3 separate regions of the Homo sapiens genome follow, and all the other regions are linked to region 2. The links are contacts of gene promoters, found by promoter capture Hi-C in blood cells and fetal thymus (Javierre and others, 2016). All regions are on one chromosome and are shown on one strand. Each heading gives the region's core, a stretch centred on a gene start or on the middle of the fragment in contact. The rest is flanking DNA. Distances are from core to core; before and after follow the strand shown.

Evidence for each region. The method cuts DNA at HindIII sites, captures the fragments that hold promoters and counts their contacts. A CHiCAGO score of 5 or more calls a contact.
Region 1: a contact is called between a fragment that was not itself captured here and the fragment with the promoter of RESF1 in region 2, in 2 of 17 cell types (erythroblasts and naive CD4 T cells). The highest score is 7.7, in erythroblasts.
Region 3: a fragment that was not itself captured here is called in contact with the fragment with the promoter of RESF1 in region 2 in 4 of 17 cell types (neutrophils, non-activated CD4 T cells, total CD8 T cells and 1 more); the score reaches 10.9 in neutrophils.

Annotation. Positions count from the first base shown.
Region 1 is chr12:32,039,820-32,043,680 of GRCh38, forward strand. No RefSeq gene overlaps it. Among named protein-coding and RNA genes, the nearest start is that of BICD1, 65 kb to the right of the region's middle. The HindIII fragment of the contact is 3,737 bases long and covers 446-3,861 here.
Region 2 is chr12:31,957,369-31,960,877 of GRCh38, forward strand. It overlaps RESF1 (retroelement silencing factor 1), which reads left to right and starts at 2,047. Exons shown (of 6, transcript NM_018169.4): 1 at 2,047-2,123; 2 at 3,409-3,503. It overlaps LOC105369725 (a long non-coding RNA gene), which reads right to left and starts at 1,936. Exons shown (of 2, transcript XR_931503.2): 1 at 1,760-1,936; 2 at 1,125-1,436. RefSeq lists enhancers at 1-168, 172-965 and a silencer at 2,018-2,357. The HindIII fragment of the contact is 2,403 bases long and covers 1,259-3,509 here.
Region 3 is chr12:31,844,946-31,848,421 of GRCh38, forward strand. No RefSeq gene overlaps it. Among named protein-coding and RNA genes, the nearest start is that of LINC02422, 41 kb to the right of the region's middle. The HindIII fragment of the contact is 8,229 bases long and covers 1-3,476 here.

The sequences.
Region 1 (3,861 bases), core at 1,064-3,563, 83 kb after region 2:
TACTGAAAATTGGTTGTTCTGCATGAAAATGCTAACCTTCAGCCTATTTATTTTATTTTAAACAGAAAAATTATACTATGTCAACCCCAAACCCTCAATCAATTTCTTAAAAGGTTAACTAAAGCATGGTAAGGTACCTAAATATAATTCTTATAAAACAAAACATCTGGTCAGTTGTGAAATGTTTAAAACATTGCTTCTTGATCACCAAATAATTAATATGGTGAATAACAGATAGGGGCTTTTGTGCAGTAGAAGATTCAAGACCAAGACAAGCTCATGTTTCCCTTTAGGCGGGCTTCCTCCTGAGGGAGGCCCCTGACCTCCCTCTTCTTAGAGCATTTGCTTTAGAAAACTTGTAAATTTTCTCTCTGATACTTCGAGATGCCAATTTTTTTTTTTTTTTTGGTCATTTTACCTTTAGTCGATGCATAATCTTTAAAAAAGCTTTGTCAGTTTTACAACCCAGGAAAGTCTTTCTCCAAGACCTGGGAACTATTTCTTTGAAATGCAATCAGCAGGACATAGCATCCTTATCTCTGTTTCTGTGGGAGGGCAGCAGGAGCCTGACTCCAAATTGCCTTGCTCCAAGTTTCAAGATATCGTGCTCTAAGTTACAAAACTAACTCTTGTCACAAAGCTAGGATACGTTTATTTCTCCTTTTTGTTGATTTTTGAACAATTAGAATTTATTTCTCACAGTTCTGAAGGCTGCGTGTCTGAGAGCAGGGTCCCAGCACAGCCAAGTTCTGGTGAGGACCCTCTTCCAGTGGCAGATGCCCACTTCTGGTGCTATCTCCCATGGAGGACAGCAGAGGCTATAATTCCTTTGGAGAAAGCCTACTAGCAAATACACAATGGAATTTTATTTAGCCTTTCAAAAAAAGGAATTTCTGCCATTTGCGACAACATAGATGAACCTGGAGAACTATGCTAAATGAAAAAAAGCCAGGCAGGGAAGGACACATACTGCAGGATCTCACATGTATGTGGAATCTAAAACAATCAAGCTCATAGAAGTAGAGAATAAAATGGTGGTTACCAGGGGCTGGGAGCGAGGAAATGGGGAAATGTTGGTCAATGGGTACAACATTTCAGTTAGACAGGAGGAATATTTTTTTGAGATCTATTGCACAGTATGAGAACTATAGTTAATAATAATGTACTGTATATTCCAAAAATGCTAAGTGAATACATTTCAAATGCTCTTCCTACCAAAAAAATGATGAGTATTGGCTGGGCATGGTGGCTCACACCTGTTATCCCAGAGTTTTGGGATGCCAAGGCAGGCAGATCACTTGAGGCCAGGAGTTCAAGGCCAGCCTAGGCAACATAGTGAAACCCTGTCTCTATAGAAAATTAAAAAAATTAGACAGACGTGATGGTGTGTGCCTGTAGTCTTAGCTACTCAGGAGGCTGAGGTGGGAGGATGGCTTGAGCCCAGGAGTTCAAAGTTACAGTAAGCTATAATGGTGCCACTGCACTCCAATCTGGGCAACAGAGTGAAAACTTGTCTCTCTAAAAAAATAAAAAAAAAAAAAGATGAGTATTGAGGTAATGGGTATGTTAATTAGCTTGATTTAATAATTTCACATTGTTTACATATATTACAACATCACTCCGTACCCCATAAAGACATCAAATTATAAAAAGCCAACGGCAAACACAAATGGCCTGTGACTTCCCTTATGTCCTTCAGTACTAATTCACCCAATCCTTTAAAACCTATCCCTTCTGGGCCGGGTGCGGTGGCTCATGCCTGCAATCCCAGCACTTTGGGAGGCAGAGGCAGGCAGATCACGAGGTCAGGAGATCGACGTCAACCTGGCTAACACAGTGAAACCCCGTCTCTACTAAAAATACAAAAAATTAGCTGGGCGTGGTGGTGGGCACCTGTAGTCCCAGCTACTCTGGAGGCAGAGGCAGGAGAATCACTTGAACCCGGGAGGCAGAGGTTGCACTGAGCCGAGATCCCGCCACTGCACTCCACCTGGGCGACAGAGAGAGACTCCGCCTCAAAAACAAACAAACAAACAAACAAACAAACAAAACCTATCCCTTCTGATGAGCAGTTTAGTTCATACTTAGTTCTGGCCCTCTCCCCTCCTGCAGTTTAACTTTGCCTAAAGTTTCAACGTTGTTCAGTGCAATTTTTCCTTTGACACCACCAGTGGTCCTGTGTTGCACCCCTTTTGTTTTGTTTCATTTTGTTTTTTTGTCTTTTGGTTTATTTGGTAGAGACAGGGTCTTGCTTTGTTGTCCAGGCTGGCCTTGAACTCCTGGCTTCAAGGGCTCCTCCTGCCTCGGCCTCCCATGGTGCTAGGATTATAGGTATGAGCCACAGCACCTGGCCTATTGCACCCCTTTTGTTGTTGTTTGTTGTTTTTTGGTTTTGAGACAGTGTCTTGTTCTGTTGCCCAGGCTGGAGCACAGTGGCATGATCGTGGCTCACTGCAGCCACTACCTCCTGGCTCAATCGATCCTCCAGCTTTAGCCTCCTGAGTAGCTGGGACTACAGAAGTGTACCACCATGCCTGGCTAGATTTTTGAATTCTTTGTAGAGACAGAGTTTCACCTTGTTTCCTAGGTTGGTCTTGAACTCTTGAGCTGAAGCCATCCAACTGCCTCGGCCTCCCAAAGCGCTGGGATTACAGGCGTGAGCCACCGCACCAAGCCTGTTTCGTGTTTTGTTTTTTAAGACAGGGTCTTACTATGTCACCCAGGCTTGAGGGCAGTGGCGTGATCATGGCTTACTGCAGCTTTGACCTCCCAGGCTCCAGTGATCCTCCCACCTCAGCCTTCTGAGTAGCTGGACTACACACGTGCTCCACCACACCCAGCTAATTTTTGTTCTTTTTTTTTTGAGACAGAGTCTCGCCCTGTCACCCAGGCTGGAGTGCAGTGGTGCAATCTCAGCTCACTGCAACCTCTGCCTCCTGGGCTCAAGCGATTCTCTTACCTCAGCCTCCAGAGTAGCTGGGACTACAAGCTCAGGCCACCACACCCAACTAATTATTTTTATTTTTATTTTTATTTTTTGAGACAGAGTCTCACTCTGTCACCCAGGCTGGAGTGCAGTGGCAACCTCCTCCTCCTGGGTTCAAGCAATTCTCCTGCCTCAGCCTCCTGAGTAACAGGGAATACAGGTGCCCACCACCACGCCTGGCTAATTTTGTATTTTTAGTACAGATGGGGTTTTACCGTGTTGGTCAGGCTGGTCTTGAACTTCTGACCTCAGGTGATCCACCTACCTCAACCTCCCAAAATTCTGGGATTATAGGCGTGAGCCACCACTCCTGGCCAATTTTTTGTATTTTTAGTAAAGATGGGGTTTCACCATGTTGGCCAGGCTGGTCGTGAACTCCTGATCTCAGGTAATCCACCCACCTTGGCCTCCCAAAGTGCTGGGATTACAGGCATGAGCCACTGCACCCAGCCTTAATTTTTGTATTTTTTGTATAGACAGGGTCTCACTATGTTGCTCAGGCTTATTTCAAACACCTGGGTTCAAGTGATCCTCTGGCCTCAGCCTCCCAAAATGCTGGGATTATAGGCGTGAGCCACTGTGCCCAGCCCCTTTTGTTGATCGCGCCACAATTTTCCAAAACGTTCATAGGGACTCTATATTAGCTTTCTAGAGCTGCCATAACAAAGCACCACAAACTGGGTGGGTTAAAAAAACAGAAAATGTATTATCTTACAGTTCTGGAAGTCAGAGGTCCAAAATCAAGGTCTTGGCAGGGCCATGCTCCTTCTGAAGGCTCCAGGGAAGAAATCTGTTCCATGCCTTACTTTTAGCTTCTGGTGTTGCCAGTAAATGCTTGTTGATACAGCACTTTAATCACTGTCTCCATTGCCTCA
Region 2 (3,509 bases), core at 797-3,296:
TTCACCCACCTCAGCCTCCCAAACTGTCAGGCCTCTGAGCCCAAGCTAAGCCATCATATCCCCTGTGACCTGCACGTATACATCCAGATGGCCTGAAGCAACTGAAGATCCACAAAAGAAGCGAAAATAGCCTTAACTGATGACATTCCACCATTGTGATTTGTTTCTGCCCCATCCTAACAGATCAATGTATTTTGTAATCTCCCCCACCCTTAAGAAGGTTCTTTGTAATTCTCCCCACCCTTAAGAAGGTTCTTTGTAATCTCCCCCACCCTTAAGAAGGTTCTTTGTAATTCTCCCCACCCTTGAGAATGTACTTTGTGAGATCCACCCCCTGCCCGCAAAACATTGTTCCGCGGAGCCTCTCCCAAAACCTATAAGAATTAAAGATAATCCCACCACCCTTTGCTGACTCTCTTTTCGGACTCAGCCCGCCTGCACCCAGGTGAAATAAACAGTCTTGTTGCTCACGCAAAGCTTGTTTGGTGGTCTCTTCACACGGATGCGCGTGACACAAAGTGCTGGGGTTACAGGCCTGAGCCACCACACCTGGCCACCCCCAATCTTTAAGAATATTCTGGCCGGGCGCGGTGGCTCATGCCTGTAATCCCAGCACTTTGGGAGGCTAAGGCGGGCGGATCAAGAGGTCAGGAGATCGAGACCATCCTGGCTAACATGGTGAAACCCCGTCTCTACTAAAATACAAAAAATTAGCCGGGCATGGTGGCGGGCGCCTGTAGTCCCAGCTACTTGGGAGGCTGAGGCAGCAGAATGGCGTGAACCTGGGAGGCGGAGCTTGCAGTGAGCCGAGATCGTGCCACTGCACTCCAGCCTGGGCGACAGAGCGTGACTCCGTCCCCCCCCCAAAAAAGAAAGAATATTCTGTATGTAGTTTTTTTGTTTTGTTTCTGACAGACGCAAACGCACTCTTCTAGTAATGACTAAAGACTTCTTCGTTTAATTCACCAATGAACTAATCTGACAATTTATGTAACAAATAAATTCCTATAAACATAAGCTCCCTTGCCCCTCTCCAGTGGCACAATCTCTGATTTGCCATCCTGGTTGCAACCTTCATTACTAAGTAAACGCTTACGTAAACCTTAATAATGAGATTCGGGCAATATGATTAAATATTGGTTTATTTGAGTGCAAAGTTTGAGGATGGCGACCCGGTAGGACACAGACTCCAAAAGATGGGGGTCAGTGCTTCGAAAGGGAGAAGTTTGAGGGTCGTTTACACAGGCAGGGTCTGGGAAGCTTAACAGGATGTCAACATTTTCCATAGAAGGTTAACGCATAGCAATTTGATTGGTTCAAGGCAGTGTTTCTTTTTGGGAAGGGTCTATTTAACATTCCACATTAAGGATGTAATAGTCAAGCGGTCATTTATCTTATTCAATGCGTATTTTATCTCAGATGCCATCTGGTCTGAGCTGGGAACAAGAAAATAAGGGAGTTAATCTATAACAAAAGGTCGGCAATTAAGAGGTCGTGCTTCGTGATCTGGTCTCCAAAGTCAACTTTCCTCAGGGACTTTCAGAATCCCCAAATAGACTATCCACTTTCTTTCACACTTATTTGCCTCTAACTTGTTGATTTCTTTTTTTTTTTTCTGTTTTTTAAGGGTTAACAATCTCTTGGGTGCACTCTGACTTCCATGCGCTTTATAGAAAAAATTGGTCCTGAGGCCAGCAGCAACAGTCGGTCTCAGGAACTTGTTAGAAATGCACATTTTTCAGCCCCACCCCAAACCTACTGAATCAGCAGTTTTGCTGGTGGTTCTCAATCTCTCTTTAACGTGCCCTCTGGGTGCTGCGGATGCACGCTGAAGGTAGAAGATCGCTGCAGGAGATTTCCGCGTCGGGCAGATGAAAGCGCTCTGCAAGCCCGGGTGTTATCTGCGGGCCGGGTCCGCGGCTTCTCTGGTGGCACTAGGACCGCGGCGGCGCGGCCCTCGCAGCCACCGCCTCGGGCGTGAGGCGGAGCGTAGCTGTTCCTGGATCCTGGGCCTGGCTCCTCGACCCGCCCCTGGAGGCGGACCCCACTTGACTTAAACTCTGGGGCCCGGGAGGCCGCCGGTTTTCTCCCCGCTTGCCGGGGTGGTCCTCTTCCCTTTGTCGGTAAGTGTGAGACGAGCACCCCGAGGTCCCTCCGCCTTCCGGGGTCCGGGCGGGGCGGGGGCCGGGAGCCGGGAGCCAGAGGCACTCGCGGTCCGGGCCTGCGCGCGGCGCAGAGCGCTTTTGTTCTGCGGCAAAGACGCAGTCGCGGGCGGCCCCGGAACCCGGGCCTCGGGCCCCGCCGGCTCGCGCGTCCCGCCGTCCGCCCACCGGAGCTGGGCCGGGCCGCCGCGCTTGCTTCTGCCCGCCGCACCGGGGCCGGCCCTGGGCCTCCGCGGATGCCGAGCCTTGCACCGGAGGGCGGGCCTCGCTGGCTGTTTTCCCTCATTGCCTGGCTCTGCGCGGTAGAGGTCGCGAGTGGCGAAGGCTAGGACGCATTTTGTCGAACTGCGAGGCGCGGCTGGTGAGGCGGGTGGGTATGAGAGCTGCTTATGTTTTTAAGGCTTTCCTGTCGCTGGAGTGAAAAAGAAAAATCTTTTTTTTTTTTTGCTATTTCCCGAGGGTTCTCCTCCTCCCCGGCCCTCTTAAGCCGAAGCCTCCTGGAACAGAATTGCTGTACTGGCATCTATCTCCAAGTGGTCCGCGAACGCTTCTGCGCCGGCGATGGTTTCTGTTCCTCAGCAATAGTTCCTTGAGGCATTTTTAAATGCACAAACGCATACCCATCTTAGGTGTTCTCGAGGGACACGGATTCCCTAAGCAAACGTCCTTAGGGTCCTGAGTTCAGCAGCAAACTTTCGGGGAATCATTTCCGTGAAAACAATTTATTTGTAGTACATCGAGTGCATACTGTCTTAACATAAGGATGTGTATGAGCTTGAGGCGCATTTTCATTTAGTGGCGGGCGGGTGCATTTCAGTAGGCGGGCCGCAGAGCTTGTTTGGGGATTGCATTTTTCTGCTAAATGTGTTAGCTTTAATCATGTTTCAGTCACTGTTAATGTGCATGCATGTTAAGGTTTTAGGTTTTTTCCCCTGTGCAGTCGGATTTTTTTCTGTTTAATATTAATCCAATAAAGACAAGTGCAGAGATAAAGTATTATTGTTTTGCAGTGATACTACAATAGCGGACCTAGAGGAGCGCACATAAATTCTAACTTAAGTGAATGGTATTTTCAGGCCAGACCTAGTTTCTATTTCTGTTACTTAGGACACTTAATAAGAATTCAGTAAACTTAGCATGCTTTCAGTGCAGCCATAAAAGAAAACAGTTTTGCACAGCAGTGTCATATCTAGTAAACACATTAGCATGTGCTCTTTTATTATAAAATGTTTCTTGCTGTCCCTAGGACCAAAGAAGTAAACACTGTGTGGAGAGGGACTGACGTGTTTGGAGGGAAATGGGAATGTACACGATAATTAAAGAGTAAAGTTGTGCTCAACGGTAAGT
Region 3 (3,476 bases), core at 660-3,159, 110 kb before region 2:
ACTACCTGGCCTCTCAGATTTCTGCCTTCAGTTCCATAAATCCTCTTAAACTAAGAGAGTCACCCGGTCACTTTCGGATGGGACAGATACCTCAGTTTATTCACATTTTTCCTGACTTTTCTTAATTCCTTCTTGTGAAGTCAGAAACTGAAAAGTCTGAGATTTTCTGCTACTTGCAAGCTAACAAGTTACCGTGCCACAATTTTTTTTTTTTTTTTTTAGACAGAGTCTCACTCTGTCGCCCAGGCTGGAGTGCAATGCAGTGATCTCGGCTCACTGCAACCTCCACCTCCTGGGTTCAAGGAATTCTCCTGCCTCAGCCTCCAGAGAAGCTGGGATTACAGGCGTCTGCCACCATGCCCGACTAATTTTCTGTATTTTTAGTAGAGATGAGGTTTCACCATGCTGGCCAGGCTGGTCTCGAACTCTTGACCTCAGGTGATCCAGCCACCTCGGCCTTCCAAAGTGCTGGAATTACAGACATGAGCCACCACGCCTGGCCCACAAATTTTTATATACATCGTGTTAGAAAACAGGAGATCTCTGAGTCAGAGACAAAGACGTGTATTCACAGTAAAAGCAGCAGCCAAGGTGACTTCAGAGCTTGGGTTCCCTGAGCCCCAATTCCCATAAGGCAACATAGGGAGGGCCAGATGGTACTTACAGGTGCTTTCAGGTGCAATACAGGAGGCGAAGTCTGAGTTTAGGAGGCTCACATTTTGCATAGGGCTGCAGGAAAATCTGCCCATCCTCCCTTCCAGAGAGAAACATTCTACACTGGAATGTGAGCAAATATTTCTGGGGAAAGATGTCTGTAAATCTCTCGGTGAAAGTTACCGTTTTGATCTTTATTTATCTAGGAATGTAAATACATTTGCTTCAGGGGAAGTCCTTGTCTTTATCTCTCCAGGGCTGCCTGCTTGCACTAGGCATTCCTAGAAAGATAATCCTGGCACACAGGAGCGAAACATGTAGGAGTGCTGAAGATTCACAGACAGTCGTCTCAATGTCTCTGAAGTTTTTTTTCCCTTAAACTTCTCCTTTTGGACATTCCCCTTCATTTTCCTTTTAAAAATCTCATCCTTTCCAACACTTTCAGTTGTAAGAATTTCCAAATCAAGCACTCAATATCAAAACAATGTGTGTGACAAACTTAAAGTGTTGAATCTGACTATGTCAGCAGAAAGCATAATTATCGATGATGTATGGGACAGCAATCTTGAATTAAAGAAGAAGGTGGGAAAGCCCCAAATCTCTCATAAATTATGATGATGATGATGATGATGATGATGATGATTTAGCACACCTCTGCTGGCAGGAAACAATTTATTTTAAAGATGACCTGTTACATTAGGTATTTGTATTGAATGTTACCTTATGTGTTGAAAAGGGAGTGAAGAGAGAATATATATGTAATTTCTTGTGTATGGATAACATCGATGTAAGTACAACCAAAATACCAATGTAAGATCTGTACACCAACCTAATAACATGAGCATGATTGATAGGTTGATCAGTAGTTTGGCTTATTGTTCAATGAATATCCACTCCCCTCTCCCTTCTACTGTGGGAAGATTATACTTCTTGGGCCTGGCCCTGTGACTTGCTCTGGCAAATGTACTACTAATGGAAAGACAGGAGAGAGACCTTGAATATGTTTGACTTGGCTCTTGGTTTGACATAGCTCTCCTAGTCCTGCCATTGTTCATAAGAACAACATGTCCCACCAGCACTGCTTCTTCAGCCTGGGTCCCAGAATAAGACTCAGGAAACAGATATGAGCACAACCTGAACCCCAGAGCCTAGGCATCTGAGTGTCAGTCTGAGGCACAATTATCAGCTGACCTGCAGATCTGCCAGTAAGATAAATAAATTCTTGGCCAGGCATGGTGGCTCATGCCTGTAATCCTAGCACTTTGGGAGGTTGAGGCAGGTGGATCACCTGAGGTCAGGAATTCGAGACCAGCCTGACAAACATGGAAAAACTCCATCTCTGCTAAAAATACAAAATTAGCCAGGCGGGTGGTGCATGCCTGTAATCCCAGCTACTCGGGAGGCTGAGGCAGGGGAATCGCTTGAACCCAGGAGGAAGAAGTTGTGGTGAGCTGAGATGGCACCATTGCATTCCAGCCTGGGCAACAAGAGTGAAACTCCATCTCAAAATAAAAGAAAAATAAATTCTTAAATTACCTGGGCATGTTGGTGCATGCTATAATCCCAGCTACTCGGGAGGCAGAGGCTGAAGTGAGCTGAGATCACGCCACTGCACTCCAGCCTGGGCAACAGAGCAAGACTCCTAAAAAAAAAAAAAAAAAGGAATTCTTGTTGTAAGCCATTTGGTTTTGGTATGTATGTGTTTTGTTGTTGTTGTTATTGTTTTGTTTTGTTTTTTTTTTTGAGACGGAGTCTTGCTCTGTCACCCAGGCTGGAGTGCAGTGGCGCAATCTCGGCTCACTGCAAGCTCTAACTCCTGGGTTCACACCATTCTCCTGCCTCAGCCTCCAGAGTAGCTGGGACTACAGGCGCCCACCACCATGCCTGGCTAATTTTTGTATTTTTAGTAGTGACGGGTTTCACCATGTTAGCCAGGATGGTCTCGATCTCCTGACCTCATGATCCGCCTGCTTTGGCCTCCCAAAGTGCGGGATTACAGGCATGAGCCACCGTGCCCGGCCCTAAAAAGGGGAGGCATGAATAATCCACCCCTTGTTTAGCATATCGTCAAGAAATAACCATAAAAATGGGCAACCAGCAGCCGGCTGCTCTGTCTATGGAGTATTCTTTTATTCCTTTACTTTCTTAATAAACTTGCTTTAACTTTATTCTATGAATGTGCCCTGAATTCTTTCTTGTGCAAGATCTAAGAACACTCTCTTGGGGTCTGGATTGGAACCCCTTTCCAGTAACATCTTTCTGACGACCCAGAGGGGACTATAGTGTGGAAACTCCCAACTCAAAGGCTAACTTTGGTTAAGTGTTGGGGTCTGATAACATCTTTCTCATGAACCACAAGTGGGACAATACTGAAAATACTTCTCAACCCAAAGGAAACAGACTGCAGCACTAATTGGCCAACTTTGGGTAATTGGGGTACCCAAGTAAAGGATGGGATTGGGTTAGAGGTGCAACTTAGGGGAGTTAGAGTCTCTCCTGAAACAGAGTGGGTTAGAGACTCATCTTAATAAAAGGCAAGAACGCTTAACCAACCTTGGGTTAGAGGCCCAAATTAGAAGAGTTATCCCTTCTAAGATTTAGGGAGTTAGAGGCCTCTCTCAGTAAAGTCCTTCTTGGCTAAGAATGGGTTTGACACTATTAACTGCTATTCTCTTTCAAATAATCTGCCTTGCACTCTTTGCTGACAGCTATGGGTGACAGGATTAGGCATGAACAGGATCGTGGGACATGGGGAGCTTTTTCTTCCCTAAAAGGGGAAACTTGAGAGCTGATGGGACTGCTGAAAAATATCCCTTCACAGC